Linked DNA regions of Homo sapiens: region 1 is linked to region 2. Evidence: promoter capture Hi-C in 16 types of primary human blood cells and fetal thymus (Javierre and others, 2016). All regions are on one chromosome and are shown on one strand. Each heading gives the region's core, a stretch centred on a gene start or on the middle of the fragment in contact. The rest is flanking DNA. Distances are from core to core; before and after follow the strand shown.

The links. The method cuts DNA at HindIII sites, captures the fragments that hold promoters and counts their contacts. A CHiCAGO score of 5 or more calls a contact.
Region 1: a fragment that was not itself captured here is called in contact with the fragment with the promoter of TBK1 in region 2 in 1 of 17 cell types (total CD4 T cells); the score reaches 8.5 in total CD4 T cells.

What each region holds. Positions count from the first base shown.
Region 1 is chr12:66,285,470-66,288,169 of GRCh38, forward strand. No RefSeq gene overlaps it. Among named protein-coding and RNA genes, the nearest start is that of HELB, 16 kb to the right of the region's middle. The HindIII fragment of the contact is 2,700 bases long and covers 10-2,700 here.
Region 2 is chr12:64,450,840-64,453,539 of GRCh38, forward strand. It overlaps TBK1 (TANK binding kinase 1), which reads left to right and starts at 1,281. Exons shown (of 21, transcript NM_013254.4): 1 at 1,281-1,348. It overlaps XPOT (exportin for tRNA), which reads left to right. Exons shown (of 25, transcript NM_007235.6): 25 at 1-286. RefSeq lists a silencer at 1,152-1,621. The HindIII fragment of the contact is 9,573 bases long and covers 1-2,700 here.

The DNA of each region.
Region 1 (2,700 bases), core at 110-2,609, 1.8 Mb after region 2:
ACATCCTTAAGCTTCTAACTTAATTCTTTTTAATCACTACATAATGTTTTTTAATTTGATTTACCATAATAAATTCAATAATTTTTCTATTGATGAGCAATCTGATTGTTTCTAGTTGCTTTTGGCCTATGAGAAATAGTACAATAAATATTCTTGCACAGTGGTGCTCTCATTTCTATAGGAGAGATTCTCCAACATGGAAGTGCTATATTAAAGAATGTGTTGATAGATTTTAAAAGACATTATATAATCGGCTGGGTGCAGTGGCTCACGCCTGTAATCCCAGCACTTTGGGAGGCCAAGGCGGGCAGATCACGAGGTCAGGAGATCGAGACCATACTGGATAACATGGTGAAACCCTGTCTCTACTGAAAAAAAAAAAAAATACAAAAAATTAGCTGGGCGTGGTGGCACTTGCCTGTAGTCCTAGCTACCTGGGAGGCTGAGGCAGGAGAATCGCTTGAACCCAAGAGGCAGAGGTTGAAGTGAGCTGACATCGCATCACTGCACTCCAGCCTGGCCAACAGCAAGACTCTGTCTCAAAAAAAAAAAAAAAAAAAGACATTATATAATTAATTTCAAAAGTTTCTAGCAATTCACATTGCCACAAAGGGCCTTTGGTCTGCTGGACAGAGTAAGCCCCATTGAGAAGATGATAATCTTTTTTCTTAAGCAAAAACACAAAGATAGCGAGGGAGTTAGCCACACAGTTCCCTGGGAAAACTATTCTAGACAAAGAGAGGAGACAGTTCAAGAACTCTCTGGGAGAATCATATCTGATGTGTTCAAGGAACAACAAGGGGGCTGGGCCAGTGTAGCTGAAGCAAAATGAGCAAAGGGAGAGCAGGAAGTGAGAAGGCCAGAGAGACTGATGGAAGGGCAGAGCATGTAAGGCCTAATAGGCTTTGCTTTCACTGCGAGTGTGATGTGGAGCTCTTGCAGGGTTTTGAGCAAAGGAGTTAATACAATCTGACCTGTTTCAAAAGAATCATTATAGCAGCTCCACTGGAAAAAAAAAATGCTGTAGGAAGCAAAATTGGAAGCAGGAGGTCCGTTAGGAGATTATTGGAATAAGCCAGCACAGAGAGGGAGGCAGCTGAGACCAGGGTGGGAGCAGCAGAGGTGGTGAGAAGTGATTGGATTCTGGGTATGTTTCGAAGGTAGAGCCAATGAGATTTGGTGATGGATTGTGCATGGGACGCAGGAAACAGAGAAAAGTTAGGATTAACTCCAAAGAGTTTGGCGGGAGCAACCAAAGGATGAAGTTACCATTAACTGAGATGGGGAAGACTGTAGGTAGAGCAGATCTGGGGAGGAAGAATGGTCAGGAATTCCTGTTTGATCCTGTCAAGTTTTAAAAGATATTTAACTGGCGATGTTAAGCAGGCAGTTGGAAGTACAAGTTTGTAGTTTAAAAGTGATGTATAAGGCCGGGCGCAGTGGTTCACGCCTGTAATCTCAACACTTTGGGAGGTCGAGGCAGGTGGATCACTTGAGGTCAGGAGTTCAAAACCAGCCTGGACAACACAGTGGAACCCTGTCTCTACTAAAAATACAAAAATTAGCTGGGCACTGTGGCACGTGCCTATAATCCCAGCTACTCGGGAGGCTGAGGCAGGAGAATCGCTTGAACCCAGGAGGCGGAGGTTGCGGTGAGCCGAGATTGTGCCACTGCACTCCAGCCTGGGCGACAAAACGAGACTCCGTCTAAAAAAAAAAAAAAAAGAAGAAGAAAGAAAACAGTGATGTATAGACAGTGATATAAATATAAGAACCACAACATATAGGTGATACTCAAGGCCATAAGAGTGAATGGAGTCTGGACAGATAAGAGAAGACTAAGGACAGAGTGGTCATGGAAAGTAAGGAAGGCCAAGGAGGCTACTCAGACAGAGCAGCCATGAAGGAGGGAGACAACTGAAAGATCGCGGCATGCCAGAAACCAAGAGATGAAAATGTGTTCAGATAGAAGGACAGATCAGGGACATCAAATACTGCTGACAGGTCAATAAGAGAACAACTGAGAACAACTGTAGTAGGCTAATTAATGTCCTCCCAGCCCCACAAAGATGTCCACATCTTAATCCCCAGAACCTGTGACTATATTGTCTTACATGGCAAGAAGAACTTTGGAGATGTGGTTAATGTTAAGGATCTGGAGATGGGGAGATTATCCTGGATTGTCCATGTGGGCCCGATGTAATCACAAGGGTCCTTATAAGAGGGAGGCAAAAGATTCAGAGTCAAAGTCAGAGAAGGCAGTGTGACCGTGGACACAGAGGTCTGAGGGATGTGGCAAGGAATGATTGTACCCTGGAGCACCCAGAAGGAAAGCAGCCCTGCTTCCCCATTTTAAACTTCTGACCTTAAGAACTGGGTGATAATAAATTTGTGTTGTTTTCAACCACTGGGTTTGGGGTAATTTGTTATAGCAGCAATAGAAAACAAATGTACTAACCATTGCATTTAGCCATGTGGAAGTCACTGGTGACCCTGCACCAGAGGAATTTCAGGGATGTGTTGGGTTGGAAACCTCATTGAAGTGGGCTAACAAAGACCAGGAGAACAAGTCTATCCTAAACACATGCAGGACCTTTTCTAGAATTAGAAGAGGGGCCTGCTTCAGGCTGGCCAATTGAAAAAGGTGGTGCTTCTGGATAAACCAATTTCCAAATGTTTCTTCTCCAACCATGACAAAGT
Region 2 (2,700 bases), core at 31-2,530:
AATGTTAATTGCTTCCCAGTTGGTTGACCTTATAAGAAAACACTGTGTGGTATTTTAATGTGGTAAACATGTGAATGAAGGCCTGTGGCTCAGTTAATCACTCCCACAACTTTGAGCTGTGAGTTTTACTGGTGGAAGGAACTTTAACAGGTCTTCGCTCTTGTCATTAGATATCAAAGAACTGAAATTAGTTGGAATTGTAAGCAGTGAATAGATGTGTTGTTAGAATGATTCCATCACTTATACATTGTTTAAAATGCTAATAAAGTAACTTGCTTTGTAAGAATTCATTAGAGTGGACTTTTGTTATCTCCATTGTGCATTTGATAAAACTGAGGCTTAGAGAGGTAAGAGATTAGCTTTTAAGTCAGTAATTGGCAGCCGAGACAGCAACCCTAGGTCTGTTACATTCAAAAGCCTCTGAGCCACTCCGCATGACTTCCCATTCATTCGTGTTTGCTGCTGCTACTCTGGGAAACACCATCTTCCTCTTCCCCTCCACTCAGAAATTTAGCCCTAGATTAGCAGCGGTCTCTGCTCCCTCATGTTGAGAAAGGCCTGTTGTGCTGTCCGTGGGCAGAAGGGACCCCTTCAGAAAGCTATTCCTTATTGGGAATAGCGGCTTGAGATTTTGACTGCACGAATATTGCAGGACCTAATTTTAGTATTTAAGTTTTAGTTCTTAAATTCTTAAGTTTAGAGTTAGATACTCCAATACGGCCGTTTTCCAAAATACCGAGAGGGAATTAAATGAACATTTTTACATTAAGAATTTAATGTATTTCTGGGTGATGGGAAAATGAAAAAAACAATGTAAAGTCTGAATTACTGCGAGACGATAATCTGGCTCCACTGCAGCCAAAGTGGGCCCTTAAAACATAGAATCCATCCCTCCCAGCTCTGCCGGCCGTCTGTGCCTGCCCCCCACGTGTCCCACGTTCTGCACACCTGTAAATCTTGGGATGTAATCCCTTGCTCAGCGTCGGTCCGCCCTACTGTCGGCCAGCGCTCGGGGAAGGGGCGGGATTTGCAGTTGCGGGAATCCCAATTACTGTGTTCGCTGCTCAGGGCTCCTCATTCCCCTTTAGAGTAAAGGGCGAGGGCAACAGTGGACGGGGTGTCTCCAGACATCCCCCTCATTACCGTGGCCGCGGAAGCCGACTCGGCAGTTGCCGCCGCGGCTGTGGTGACTACCAGACGGGCCATAGGCGTGCGCACGCGCACCCGCACCGGCGCGCCGGCCGTCGGTCACGTGGCCTCCGGCCAGGGCTTGCGAAGCCGGAAGTGTCCTGAGTCTCGAGGAGGCCGCGGGAGCCCGCCGGCGGTGGCGCGGCGGAGACCCGGCTGGGTAAGTGAGACGGCCGCGGGCTGAGGGGCCAAGGCGGCGCGGGGCGCGGTCGGTCAGGCCTGCGCCGCCCGGCGGGGAGCGCTCCCGCCCCCTGTGGGAGGCTGGGATGCTGAGTCAGAGCGGGGGCGGGGGCGGGCGCACCGAGAAGCCCCGGACGACCCGAGGCCAAGCCATCCAGGACCCCGGCTGCGTGGACACTGCCTCTGGGGTGTGTGTCGGGTGGCCGTAGCCGGTGGAATGGTCGCGCGGGCCCTGTTACCTGCATCCCCGCTCCGCGCCGCGCGGCCGGTCCTCGACCTGCATCCCGTCCGGCGGCTTTGGGCATAAAGAGGACGACTCCGTTACCGGGCCTGGGCCCTGGCTGCCTGGGGAGGCAGGGGCACCTCTTTCCCTTAGACTCGCTGTTTTCTACCCTCTTTCCGAGCGTCGACACAACGGGCAGTTTTTAAATGTATTGATTTTTCAGAGGATTAAAAAGAGACGTTTCCTTAGAGTTTTAGTGATGTTCAGTCCGCAGAGGTTGACTCACACCGGAAATTAGAAGCATAAGATGTTTTAAATATATGCCGATGAAATACGAATTCCCAGACATTTCCTTGCTCCTCGTCTACCTGGCTTATGGGTTTAATTTGTAATCTCTATCCCAAGTATTCTTAGTAGGTGGCCTCAAAACAACTCCCAAGTAATTGCCAAATGTATAACCAAAGACTGGTCTTTTCCACTCTGAAACCCCAGTGTATGAATCACATAGGGGCAGAGTTTAGAAATCCTGGAACTTTGTCCATAGGCCATGTCGTCAAACCTGTTTTCATCCCTCAACAAATAGTAACTTTCGTTTTGGACGGTGTAAGGAAGTAGGCTGAAGACGGCATCATCAGCAACATAGTTGTTGAGTGTCTGCTTATATGCTTGTCAAAAATTTGGGAAGATTTATATGGCAAGCACGTTGTGGGTGTGCTGAGTCATGTTTTAACATGTTATTGTGGAGTTATTGGAAGATAATTTCAAAAGACATTTCCCCTGACCACTATTGTGATTACTGTTAAATAGAAACCATAGTTTTGTATTTGCATAGAGAACAGATATCTTAGCTGATAAATATTTTTCTTATTATCCTGAAGGTACATACATATAGGTACCTAATGGTACTATTTGCCATTTACAGTTACATTGATTAGGGAAGGTTTTTCGTTAGATAGTTGAGACGTTTGTTATTGTATCGTGAGTGAAATGTAATGACTGGCAAATGTGTATTCCTTATTTGTGAAAAGGGAATCTTATTTTTATTGCTTATTTCCTATAGTCGTATATAAAGTTTATCTAAATTAGATGGGTAGTAAAATTATATAAAA